3 separate regions of the Homo sapiens genome follow, and regions 2 and 3 are each linked to region 1. The links are contacts of gene promoters, found by promoter capture Hi-C in human tissues and cell types (Jung and others, 2019). All regions are on one chromosome and are shown on one strand. The core of a region is centred on a gene start or on the middle of the fragment in contact, and the rest is flanking DNA. Distances in the headings are between cores, read along the strand shown. Region 1 holds the start of OR6J1 (olfactory receptor family 6 subfamily J member 1). Region 2 overlaps ABHD4 (abhydrolase domain containing 4, N-acyl phospholipase B). Region 3 has its middle 42 kb from the start of OR6J1.

Region 1 (4,208 bases), core at 1,620-4,119:
GAATCACTTGAACCCAGGTGGCAGAGCCTGCGGTGAGCCGTGATCATGCCATTGCACTCCAGCCTGGGCAACAAGAATTAAACTCTGTCTCAAAAAAAAAAAAAAAAAGGATGATGTCATTTATACTATTTTGCAACACTCTTTTTACTTCATTATCTATTCTTCTACAATGTTTGTGACTTGAACTAGGGTAATGGGGATGGTGATAAGTGGTTGGATTTGACATATATATAAAGGTAGAGCCAGTGGGATTTGCTAATGAATTGGGTATGAGATGTGAGAAAAAGAAATTGCTGAAATTGTTAGATACTATTGCCTGTTCATGGGGGTATATGATGTGAGATTGAAATTAGAAGCTTTTTGGACTAAAATTCATATATACTGAGCAACTTTTGCTTTTCCAGTTAGGCATTATGGGGATTCAAAAATAATTTTATGAAAAAAATCCCTGTTCCCAAGGAACTTAAAAATCTGCCCAGAGGCTAAATAACCACAAATGAAATGATGAAATATATGGCAATAAAAATGAGTCACACACCACAACATGATTGAATTTCAAAACTATAAGGTTGAGAAAAAGATGTCAGACACAAAACAAGACCTATTAGATGATTTCATTTATATGAATTTCCAAAACAGGCAAAACTAATCCATGGTGTTAGAAATCAAGATAATGGTTACAGCTGGGATGTGGGGAGGGAGCTTGAGAAGGATTTCTGGGGTGCTAGTACCATTCTGTTTCTTCACCAGGGTGGTGGTTACATGAATGTGTTCACTTTATTGATAATTCATTGAGCTTATGATTTGTATACTTTTCTGTACATGTGTTATATTTAAATTAAAAAAGGTTAAAAACACTCCAGTTCTACACTGTGGATTCCTGATTCCAAGTGCAAGAAAAGGATATCTAAAGAGGGAGAACCTAGCTTAGGCTAGGAAAAGGGACAAGAGTAGGGCCTAGAGACTAGGCGGTGGAGAAGATGGTCCCAATGGTAGGACACTTGGGGCCCGAGTGTGCAGTAAGAAAGTGAGGGCCAGCGTGGGGCACAGTGAATAGAGTGGCTCAACCGAAGTAAAAGATGCGCAAGGTGATGTGTAAGACAGGAGCTGAGTCTGGGCGGTAATTCAAGGGAGACTGGGATTAGGGGGTCTTGAGTGCCAGGCTATGCAGTGTGGGACCTTTTGTTTCACATAGTGCAAGGTTACTGAAGCTTTGGCATATTGATCACAGTGTATTAGGATGTTGAAGAGGAGGGTCCTGGGTAAATGGAGTGGTAGGGATGGATGGAACTGTCACAGTGGGGCTGGAGAGGGGGTGGATGGAGGACTGTATGCTGTGAGGCTCTCTGAGATAGGCCTGGGGGTGTTGATCTTGGCTAGTGTTCTGTTCCCAGTTCTTGTTAGTGTAGATGTTTAGGTTTGCATCCTTTCCTAAGTGGGCCTCAGGGGCATCAGACTCAGGCTTGGTGTTCAGGGACAGCTTCGTAATGTGCCCCTGAGGAGTGCCCCATGTTTGGAGGTTTCTCAGAAAGTGCATGCTCTCACCTGAGCCAATCCCACCCCAACCCTCCCAAGTGGGGTCCAAACATGGGACCCTTCTAGAGTATGCCCCCTTCAGCCCTGACAGTGCAGAGTCTGTTTGCAGCAACGCAAGCCTCAGCGCCCAGCACGGAAGCCTGGGGCAGCTGTGTGGGCAGGATATGCTGGGGGCCAGCCCCCTCTACCTTATTTAGGCAAATGTGAGTATTTCTGAGTCCTCCCGCTGAATCCCTTCCAGCTTACTGACTCCTCTGTAGAGTGCAGATGGTGGAGGACAGGAAGTAGTTTCTTCATTTCCAGGAATCCTGGGCAACCGAAATTCCCATGTAGAGAAGCATCTTCCCTTTGTCTTCACACTTTGTAGCCAACCAGATATGCTGTCCAAGGGGAGAATAGTTGATTAAGGCAGAAGCATGGGCCTGATGAGATGTATTCCAGAGCCAGAAGGGACAGTATTCTTCCCTCTAGGGTGGGATGATCAATATCTCAGTAGGGACAAGGAAGATAAGGTTTGTTCTTTTCCAGTATTGCAGAATAGGAGGGGTTCTAGAAAATAAAGCAATATGGTGTTTTATGATTTCACACATCATATGAATTATCATACATTTGTTCTTCACGATCCTTGGCAATGATCGATTATCATATGAGTTATCTTATTTTCCGTTTTGTGCTTCTCAACCTCATGAGGAAGAGGAGGAAAAGAGCATTACCGCTGTTTGTCACATGAGGATTCATTTGCAGATAGTATGAAAATGGAGGCAATTTTTCCAGTCTCAAGAATGGTAAAAGGCACAGGTGGGACTTGAACCCAGACTCTTGGCTTCAAGTCCAGAGTTTTCTCATGCACCAGCTACCCCTCAACAGGATTTGACTATCCTGCAGTAACCCTAGAGGAAGTTTAGTCCTTGGGACGCTTGGCCTGCCAGTCTCTGAAAAAAATATGATGGGGATGGTGGTGGTGGTAGTGCACGTTGGGTTGAGGGGACAGAGGAAGAAGCAGGTTGATGGCTGTTGTCCATCAGGTAACACAGTGTTTCTTTTCCCATTTTCTCTGGAATCAAGAAGCACCCAGAAGACTGGGCTGAGCAGAAGACTGGAGAGGGTGCAGGAAAGATGGTAGCAGGAGAGGAGAATAAAGCACCATCCAGGAGCTTAGTGGAGAGTGCCCCTTTTCTCTCCCCAACTGGATCAGATTGTGTAGACAGTGTGGGAGGTGCAGCTGGTCAATGCTTAACCGAAGGTGATTTCCTCACACACTCAGGATTAGGGCAAGAGGATTTGTAGACCTCTCTATGCTGGAATGGATGTCATACCTTGTAACTTCCTCAGCAGTGTAAAAATCCAACATGTACCTTCCAGCTGTCTACAACACAAGTGCATGCTCGTCGGACAAGAGGTCACAGCTAAGGCAACAATCCACATGAGTTGGGAAGGGCTCATTTCACCTGTCAAACACTGCTGCTCTCATGTGGAATGCACTGTGGCTTTTTGGTCAAGATAATTACCGTGGAAGATCCTAGGTGGCAGCAAATCCCAGGTGAACAGACTGAGCCGTGGAGGTGGCATAAGGCAACCCTAGCCGAGGTGAGTGCAGACCAATCGTTTGGCATTTGGGGGCTGGCTGGGAGCAGCTGTTCCTGTTATAATCTCAGGTGTGTATCTTTGCCTTCATTAAGCTTCTTAATATTTCTGATGTGAGGAAATGATTTTCCAGTGGGTGCAGTTGCACCTTATGCAAAGATGTATTTTGAGAGTTAAATGAATTAAGTCTTGATCCCTCATCCTACCATTTCCAGATTTGGTGACCAAGTCCAAATTCATCCTCCATACTATTCTTCTAGATTTTACAGACTGTGCATATATCTACATTTAGTAACTGCTGTCTCTCTCTCTCTCTCTCTCTCTCTCTCTCTCTCTGTGTGTGTGTGTGTGTGTGTGTGTGTGTGTGTGTGTGTGTGTGTGTGTGTTTCTGCCATGCCAGGGGTCAGGGCTTCTTCTTGGGGCTGTGGCCTTTTCTCCTGCTACATTGGTTCTTTAAGATCCTTGGCAATGATCCATGCTATAACATAGATGAACCTTTACAAATATTATAGTAAGTGGCCTGCACCTGTAATCTCAGCACTTTGGGATGCTAAGACAGGAAGATCGCTTGAGCCCAGGAGTTCGAGACCAGCCTGGGCAATATGGCAAAACCCCTATCACTACAAAAAATACAAAAATTGGCCGGGCATGGTGGTGTGTGCCTGTAGTCCCAGTTACTTGGGAGTCTGAGGTGGGAGGATCACTTGAGCCTGGGAGGTCGAGGATGTAGTGAGTTATGATTGCACCACTGCACTCCAGCCTGGGTGACAGAGTGAGACCCTGTCTCAAAAAATAAAAAAAGTAAAATTATTTTCTAATTAAAAAAAAAATTAGGCTAGGCACGGTGGCTCACGCCTGTAATCCCAGCACTTTGGGAGGCCGAGGTGGATGGATCACTTGAAGTCAGGAGTTCGAGACCAGCCTGGCCAACATGGGGAAACCCTGTCTCTACTAAAAATACAAAAATCTGCTGGGCGTGGTGGCAGACGCCTGTAATCCCAGCTACTTGGGAGGCTGAGGCTGGAGAATCGCTTGAACCGGGGAGGCGGAGGTTGCAGTGACCAGAGATTGCACCATTGCACTCCAGC
Region 2 (4,229 bases), core at 1-2,500, 34 kb after region 1:
TCAGAGGCCTCCAGTTGGGAGGAAGATGGGGCAAGGAAGGAAGCACTTGAGTGTCCCTAGCTTAGGCAGCCGGGGATGAGACACAGGCAGGACAACAGCACCCCCGCATAGTGGGGCTAGAATGTGGGACAGGGACGGGCTTATCCTCGGCCAGTGACTAGGACCAGCCCCATGGCAATGGTGCCTGTCTCCAGCCTTAGCAAATCAAGTGTGCAACAAGCACAGGGTGTCGGCAGACCTGGGCTCTAGCCTTACAAGCTCTGCCAGAACTTGAATCACACAGAGCTGTATCACCATGGTCCAGCCATGTCCTGCCTTGGCCTGTTTCCTCCTCTGTCAATGAGGGCTTTGAATAAGACCTCCTAGGTCATGAAAAGGACTCTGCAGGTGAAGGGAACTCCAGGACCTGCTCTTGGCAGTTAAGCAGACCCTGGATGGAACTGGTATGGGATGGGGTGAAGTGGGGGATGGAGGAGGAAGGTGTTCTTGCATGGAACCTATCCCCACAAACACTACAGAGTGAGGAAAGGCCACTGGAAGCCCTTCTTTGCCCAGAGGAAGAAAGGCCACAGAGAGAGTGAATGTGGCTTGGTGCAATCCCTTCACATCCTCCACCATCTGGGTAACACTTGGCAAGGAGTGGATGGGTGGCATTGTGCAACCCTTTATGTTCTTCCCTGGGGGTGGCACTCAAGGCCTCTTGTGGCTTCTGCCTTCAGCCTTCAGTGTAGGGTCAAGAGTGTTCTTTTCACTGTCGTCCTGTTCTGGGAACAGCACAAGACTCTGCCTGGCTGGCACATGTTAGTTGGTGAGGAAAGGACAGAGTGGGTGAGTAAGCAGACAGGGAGGTAAGAGTGACTCTCTGGCTTTCTCCTCTTCCTCTTCAGAGAGCAGCTCAATCAACTGAGTCGCAGATCTCCTCCACCACAGCATTGAAGATGTGTGGCTGGTCAGCATAGACATGGTGGGAGGCACCCTTAATCTCCTGTGGAGAGAGAACCCGCAGGGGTGGGATGGCCTTTTATTCCTGGTGCTGGGAAGCCTTCACGCTATTTCTTTTCCCCTTAGACTTGCTTGCCTGCCACCCACGAGCTCTTATCAGAGATAATGCTCCACCTTTCTCGCTTGGATCTTGGTATTTTCCTTTGACAGCCAATGCTTTCCCATTCTACTTACTTGATAAACATTCACTGTGTCTTTCCTTCTGTGTTAGCCCCACCACTGATCTGCTCATTTAATCCAAAGGTCCAGTAAACCTGGGCCCATGGTTGGCACCCAGCCTCATTAAGCACACTCATTGGCACATGGCGGAGAGGGGTAAGAAAAAAGGGGAGGAGGTGTGGTGGGGAAGCTTCATGGCAGCCTCTACTATTCACTCTACTGCCCATGGCTCTGGTTTTGGGGTAGAAACTACATGGGGGCTGGAGTAGCAGCAGGTGCCTGGCTGCTAGACAAGAACCAGCCTTTTAGCTGAACTGGGCTAAAAGCAGGAAGCCCCTAATGAAGGTAGTACAATACGAGCACTTTGGGAGGCCAAGGTGGGCGGATCACGTGAGGTCAGGAGTTCGAGACCAGCCTGACCAACATGGAGAAACCTCGTCTCTACTAAAAATACAAAATTAGCTGGGCGTGGTGGCGCATGCTAATAATCCCAGCTACTCGGGAGGCTGAGGCAGAAGAATCGCTTGAACCCGGGAGGCGGAGGTTGCAGTGAGCCGAGATTGTACCATTGCCCTCCAGCCTGGGCAACAATAGCGAGACTCCATCACGAAAAAAAAAAGATATTCCAAAGAGAGTTTCCAAACTTCTCAAATCTACTGCTCTATCTCAGTCTGTCCATTCCTCTTTCTCCTTGATCACCCTTCTCTACCCCAAGGCTGAGAGGTGATTGACTCTCAGTCATCATTTCCACTCCTTGGGTGGTGCAACATACCATGTCTCGGACATAGGAATCCGGCCGCTGCATCTTCACCTTTTTTCCCGTACTGGTATCTATCCAGGTGTCGGACCCGTAGATCATAGTGATAGGCACATCTTTTCGAATCAAGTGAATTCGCTCCAGCATAGGGCGCCGGGCCCAGCCAAAGGACTCCATCATGGCTTTGAATGCTGTCTCACCACTGTCAAAAGCAAAACAGCAATAAACTTCACAGCAGAATATGTCAACTTGTTGGTCTCTTCAGAGACTGAGGCAGAATCTTAGTCACCTTTGTATTCCTGTCAAAGCCCCACACTGGGCTCATTAAATATTGGTAAGATTAGGGGAAGACCAAAATTCCAGAGGCCTCCCATCACAGAAGAGTTCGGAGGAACACTTGTGAAAAACCCCATGGCAGTACGAACTGTCCAAGAATCTGAGAATGAAATGGGTTATTATTGACTCAACAAATATTCTGTCATGCCCTGGACTGGGAAAGGGGACATATGAACAAGAAAGGCAGGATGCTGTCCCTCCTGGAGCTCACACACTTTAGCTCATGTGTTAGGGAGGTAGGCATTAAGTAACTAATCATATGATTAATTGTTATTTAATTTAAAATTTCTTGGGCTGGGCACGGTGGCTCACACCTGTAATCCCAGCACTTTGGGAGGCCGAGGCGGGCGGATCATTTGAGGTCAGGGGTTTAAGACCAGCCTGGCCAACATGGTGAGACCCTGTCTCTACTAAAAATACAAAAATTAGCGGGGCGTGGTGGTGCGCTTCTGTAATCCCAGCTACTCAGGAGGCTGAGGTAGGAGAATTGCTTGAGCCTGGGAGACAGAGGTTGCAGTGAGCCAAGATCACGCCACTGCACTCTAGCCTGGGTGACAGAGCGAGACTCTGTCTCAAAAAAACAAACGAACAGCCAGGCATGGAGGCTCATGCCTATAATCCCAGCACTTTGGGAGGCTGATGCGGGCAGATCACCTGAGGTCGGGAGTTCGAGACCAGCCTGGCCAACATGGTGAAACCCATCTCTACTAAAAATACAAAATTAGCCAGGCATGGTGGTGCATGCCAGCAATCCCAGCTACTTGGGAGGCTGAGGCAGGAGAATCGCTTGAACCTGGGAGGCAGAGGTTGCAGTGAGCCGAGATCGTGCCATTGCACTCCAGCCTGGGCAATGAGCAAACCTCCATCTCAAAAACAAACAAACAAACAAACAAAAAACAACTTAAAATTTCCCAAGAAGGATGAAAAGGTGGTCGAGTGCTATGAAAACACAGACTGGGGATTTAGCCTGTTGGGGGTCTAGAGACATGGTCAGAAGTTCATCTGAGGTGAACGCTTAAAAGTGAGTACTATAGTAGTAAAAAGGGCTTCCTGAGAAGACTCTGGAATTAAAAATCAGTCTTCCAAGGGCTGGGGGAGCAGCAGTTTCTGTTAAGCAAGAAACAACAAATGCCAATGTAATCTATTTCACTCCCCGGTCATTTGCTCAGGTAGAATGAATTGAGGCCGTATCATGAGGTGTCCACAAGGCTGGGGCAGAGCCAGCTTTCTGGGGCTGGTCTGCAGCTTCTGCTAGAGATAGGGCAGGTTGGGGACACTGCTGCCTCCTAGGCTTGGCCTGTTTAGTACCATCAGATCTCCATTCTCTTTTACATGTACAGATGAAAGGGAACCTGAGTTCTGCCCAGGCCATCAGAAATAAATTTTTCCTTAAGATACTGCAGCACGGCAGAAAAAGCATGGAATTTGGAGTCAAATGAATTCAAATCCTCAGCTGTGTTTTCTTAGCAAGTCATGTAACCAGAATATACTTTAGTTTCCTCATCTATAAATGTAGAGTATTATACCTACTTCACTAGGACATCATTAGGAAAATAAAAATATATACAAAGCCCCTAAGTTTAGGTGAGATGAAGTAGATACCCTCAAACATGTTGGTCAAATTTCATGTTTTCCAAGGAAATGATAAGAGTTACCATGAGCTTGTCAGGGTTACAAAGTCAAAAAACTCAGGGAGTTACAAAATTGAGTGACGGTGTTTGGGGGTGAGGGAGCTGGTTGTCACTGATGTCACCTTTGCTTCCTCTGGGATGTGAATGAATTATAAACTTATATACTCTGTGGCTTAGGTTGGGAGGACATTGTACAGAACTAGGTCTGGGATGGGGAAAGTTCTGGGGAAAGGGCTAGGGCTGGGCCTGTGGGGCCTCAGGTGGGTATGAGACAGGCACTGAGCCCATGGGGGCTGAGAGAAGGGCCAACGGCAGGAAGACAGGGGAACCTGATTTGACTGCTG
Region 3 (4,201 bases), core at 1,396-3,895, 42 kb before region 1:
TAATATTGACAGTAGGGTGTTAAAGTCTCCCATTACTATTGTGTGGGAGTCTAAGTCTCTTTGTAGGTCTCTAAGAACTTGCTTTATGAATCTGGGTGCTTCTGTATTGGGTGCATATATATTTAGGATAGTTACCTCTTCTTGCTGCATTGATCCCTTTACCATTATGTAATGCCCTTCTTTGTCTCTTTTGATCTTTGTTGGTTTAAAGTCTGTTTTATCAGAGATTAGGATTGCAACTTGTGCTTTTTTTTGCTTTCCATTTGCTTGGTAAATATTCCTCCATCCCTTTATTTTGAGCCTATGTGTATCTTTGCACATGAGATGGGTCTCCTGAATACAGCACACTAATGGGTCTTGACTCTTTATCCAATTTGCCAGTCTGTGTCTTTTAATTGGCGCATTTAGCCCATTTACGTTTAAGGTTAAAATTGTTGTGTGTGAATTTGATCCTGTCAATATGAGGCTAGCTAGTTGTTTTGCCCATTAGTTGATGCAGTTTCTTCATTGTGCCAATGTTCTTTACAATCTAGTATGTTTTTGCAGTGGCTGGTACCAGTTGCTCCTTTCCACGTTTAGTGCTTCCTTCAGGAGCTCTTGTAAGGCAGGCCTGGTGGTGACAAAATCTCTCAGCATTTGCTTGTCTGTAAAGGATTGTGTTTCTCCTTCGCTTATGAAGCTTAGTTTGGCTGGATATGAAATTCTGGGTTGAAAATTCTTTTCTTTAAGAATGTTGAATATTGGACCCCACTCTCTTCCGACTTGTAGAGTTTCTGCAGAGAGATCTGCTGTTAGTCTGATGGGCTTCCCTTTGTGGATAACCCGACCTTTCTCTCTGGCTGCCCTTAAAATTTTTTCCTTCATTTCAACCTTGGTGAATCTGAGAATTATGTGTCTTGGAGTTGCTCTTCTCAAGGAGTATCTTTGTGGTGTTCTCTGTATTTCCTGAATTTGAATGTTGGCCTGTCTTGCTAGGTTGGGGAAGTTCTCCTGGATAATAATCCTGAAGAGTGTTTTCCAACTTGGTTCCATTCTCCTCATCACTTTCAGGACACCAATCAAACACAGATTTGGTTTTCACATAGTCCTGTATTTCTTGGAGGCTTTGTTCATTCCTTTTTTTCCTTTTTCTCTAATCTTGTCTTCAAGCTTTATTTCATTAAGTCGATCTTCAATCACTGATATCCTTTCTTCTGCTTGATTGATTCAGCTATTGAAACTTGTGTATGCCTCACAAAGTTCTCATGCTGTGTTTTTCAGCTCCATCAGGTCATCTATGTTCTTTTCTACACTGGTTATTCTAGTTAGTAATTCATCTAACCTTTTTTCAAGGTTCTTAGCTTCCTTGCATTGGGTTAGAACATGCTCCTTTAACTTGGAGGAGTTTGTTATTACCCACCTTCTGAAGCCTTCTTCTGTCAATTCATCAAACTCATTCTCCATCCAGTTTTGTTCCCTTGCTGGCGAGGAGTTGTGATCCTTTGGAGGAGAAGAGGCATTCTGGTTTTTGGAATTTTTGACCTTCTTGTTCTTGTTTCTCCCCATCTTTGTGGATTTATCTACCTTTGGTCTTTGATGTTGGTGACCTTTGGATGGGGTCTTTGAGTGGATGTGCTATTCCTGTTTGTTAGTTTTCCTTCTGACAGTCAGGCCCCTTTGCTACCAGTCTGTTGGAGTTTGCTGGAGGTCCACTCCCAACCCTGTTTCCCTGGGTATCACCAGAGGATGCTGCAGAACAGCAAAGATTGCTGCCTGGTCTTTCCTCTGGAAGCTTCGTCCCAGAGGGGCACCTCCTAGATGCCAGCCAGAACTCTCCAGTATGAGGTGTCTGTTGGCCCCTACTGGGAGGTGTCTCCCAGTCAGGATACATGGGGGTCGGGGACCCACTTGAGGAGGCAGTCTGTCCCTTAGCAGAGCTTGAATGCTATGCTGGGAGGTCCACTGCTTTCTTCAGAGCTGTCAGGCAGAGACGTTTAAGTCTGCTGAAGCTGTGCCCACAGCTGCCTGTTTTCCCAGGTGCTCTGACCCAGGGAGATGGGGGTTTTATCTGTAAGTCCCTGACTGGGGCTGCTACCTTTTTTTTCAGAGATGCCCTGCCCAGAGAAGGGACGTCTGGCCACAGCAGCCTTGCTGAGCTGCAGTGGGCTCCGCCCAGTTTGAACTTCCCAGTGGCTTTCTTTATACTGTGAGTGTAAAACCACCTACTCAAGCCTCAGCAATGGTGGACGCCCCTCCCCCCACCAAGCTCGTGTCTCAGGTTGATCTCAGACTGCTGCTGTGCTGGCAGTGAGAATTTCAAGCTAGTGGATCTTAGTTTGCTGGGCTCTGTGGGGGTGGGACCCACCAAGCTCGATCACTTGGCTCCCTGGCTTCAGCACCCCTTTCCAGGGGAGTGAATGGCTCTGTCTCGCTGGCATTCCAGGCACCACTGGGGTATGGAAAAAAAGAACTCCGGCAGCTAGTTTGGTGTCTGCCCAAATGGCTGCCCAGTTTTGTGCTTGAAACCCAGGGCCCTGGTGGGGTAGGCACCGGAGGGAATCTCCTGGTTTGCGGGTTGCAAAAACCATGGGACAAGCACAGTGTCTGTACCAGAGTTCCTCAGGCTCAGTGCCTCATGGCTTCCTTTGGGTGGGGCAGAAAATTCCCTGACCCGTTGTGCTTCCCAGGTGAGATGGCTCCCCACCCTGCTTCAGCTTGCCCTCCATGGGCTGCACCCACTGTCCAACCAGTCCCAGTGAGATGAACCGGGTACCTAAGTTGGAAATGCAGAAATCCCCCACCTTCTGCATCAGTCTCTCTGGCAGCTGCAGACCGGAGCTGTTCCTATTCGGCTATCTTGCCAGTAAATCTCTCTCTTTTTTTTTTTTTTTCCCAAGAAGACTGAGCTCTGCATTGATGTGATTAAGTCACACCTCAGGGTTCCTTTGGGCCCTTCACAGTAACTGTGCATCCCTTCAGAGTAATGCCAACATTTTCTGGAATGTTGACAGTCTGATTGCTGAGAATGATCTTCATTCTCTCAGTAGATGCGGCAAAGGAAAAACATCTTCAATGTTATTATGGGGGATAAGGACTTATTCTTGCCATTTTATTATTTGTTTTCTGGTCTTCTCTTTCTTCTTTCTTTTCTTTCTATCTTCCTTTTGGTGAAGGTGGTTTTCTCTGGTGATATAATTTAGTTTCATGCTTTTTCTTTTTGTGTATCTGTTATATGGTTTTTGTTTTGAGATTACCATAGGGCTTGCAAATACTATCTTATAAGCCATTATTTTAAGCTGATAACAACTTAACAATGTTTGCATTAACAAATGAGCAAACAAGCAAAAATAAAATTAATAAAGACTCTATGCCTTAACTTTGTCCCCCCATGTTTTAACTTTTTGTTGTTACTATTAATTCATACCTTATTTGTACTATGTCTTGAAGTTATTACTTTTTGTTCAGTTCATCTTTTCACATAAAATACTACTAATACTAAACTACTCACATCTTTCTACTTAAGATCTTTCTACTTAAGATGTGAGTAGTTTAAACATCACAATTACAGAGTTATAATATTCTGTGTACTTACTATTACTAATGAGTTTTGTACCTTCAGATGATTGCTTATTAACATCATTTTCTTTCTGATTGAAATATTCCCCTTAGCATTTCTTGTAAGACAGGTCTGATGTTGATGAAATCCCTCAGCTTTTGTTTGTCGGGGAAAGTCTTTATTTCTTCTTCATATTTGAAGGATATTTTTTGCCAGATATACTATTCTAGGGTAAAAATTTTTTTCCTTCTGCACTTTAAATATGCCATGCCACTCTCTCCTGACCTGTGAAGTTTCCACTGAGAAGTCTGCTGTCAGATATATTGGAGCTCTGTTGTATGTTATTTGTTTGTTTTATCTTGCTCCTTTTAGGACTCTTTCTTTGTCCTTGACCTTTGGCAATTTGATTATTAAATGCCTGGAGGTAGTCTTCTTTGGGCTAAATCTGTTTGGTGTTCTATAACCTTCTTGTACTTGGATATTGATAGCTTTCTCTAGGTTTGGGAAGTTCTCTGTTATTATCCCTTTGAATAAACTTTCTACCCCATCTCTTTCTCTACCTCTTCTTTGGGGCCAATAACTCTGAGATTTGAGGCTATTTTCTAGATCCTGTAGGTGTGCTTCATCTTTTTTTTTTCTTTTTGAGATGGAGTTTCGCTCTTGTTG

Evidence for each region. Contacts are between HindIII fragments. The study calls those that stand out against the background at their distance.
Region 2: a fragment that was not itself captured here is called in contact with the fragment with the promoter of OR6J1 in region 1 in 2 of the 25 tissues and cell types used here (neural progenitor cells and spleen).
Region 3: a contact is called between a fragment that was not itself captured here and the fragment with the promoter of OR6J1 in region 1, in 2 of the 25 tissues and cell types used here (mesenchymal stem cells and spleen).

What each region holds. Positions count from the first base shown.
Region 1 is chr14:22,643,013-22,647,220 of GRCh38, reverse strand. OR6J1 (olfactory receptor family 6 subfamily J member 1) reads left to right here and starts at 2,869. Exons shown (of 2, transcript NM_001348233.2): 1 at 2,869-3,123. The HindIII fragment of the contact is 14,040 bases long and covers 2,214-4,208 here.
Region 2 is chr14:22,607,615-22,611,843 of GRCh38, reverse strand. It overlaps ABHD4 (abhydrolase domain containing 4, N-acyl phospholipase B), which reads right to left. Exons shown (of 7, transcript NM_022060.3): 6 at 1,934-2,120; 7 at 1-985. The coding sequence ends at 896. Among named protein-coding and RNA genes, the nearest start is that of ABHD4, 11 kb to the right of the region's middle. The HindIII fragment of the contact is 9,196 bases long and covers 1-4,229 here.
Region 3 is chr14:22,684,369-22,688,569 of GRCh38, reverse strand. No RefSeq gene overlaps it. Among named protein-coding and RNA genes, the nearest start is that of OR6J1, 42 kb to the right of the region's middle. The HindIII fragment of the contact is 3,462 bases long and covers 915-4,201 here.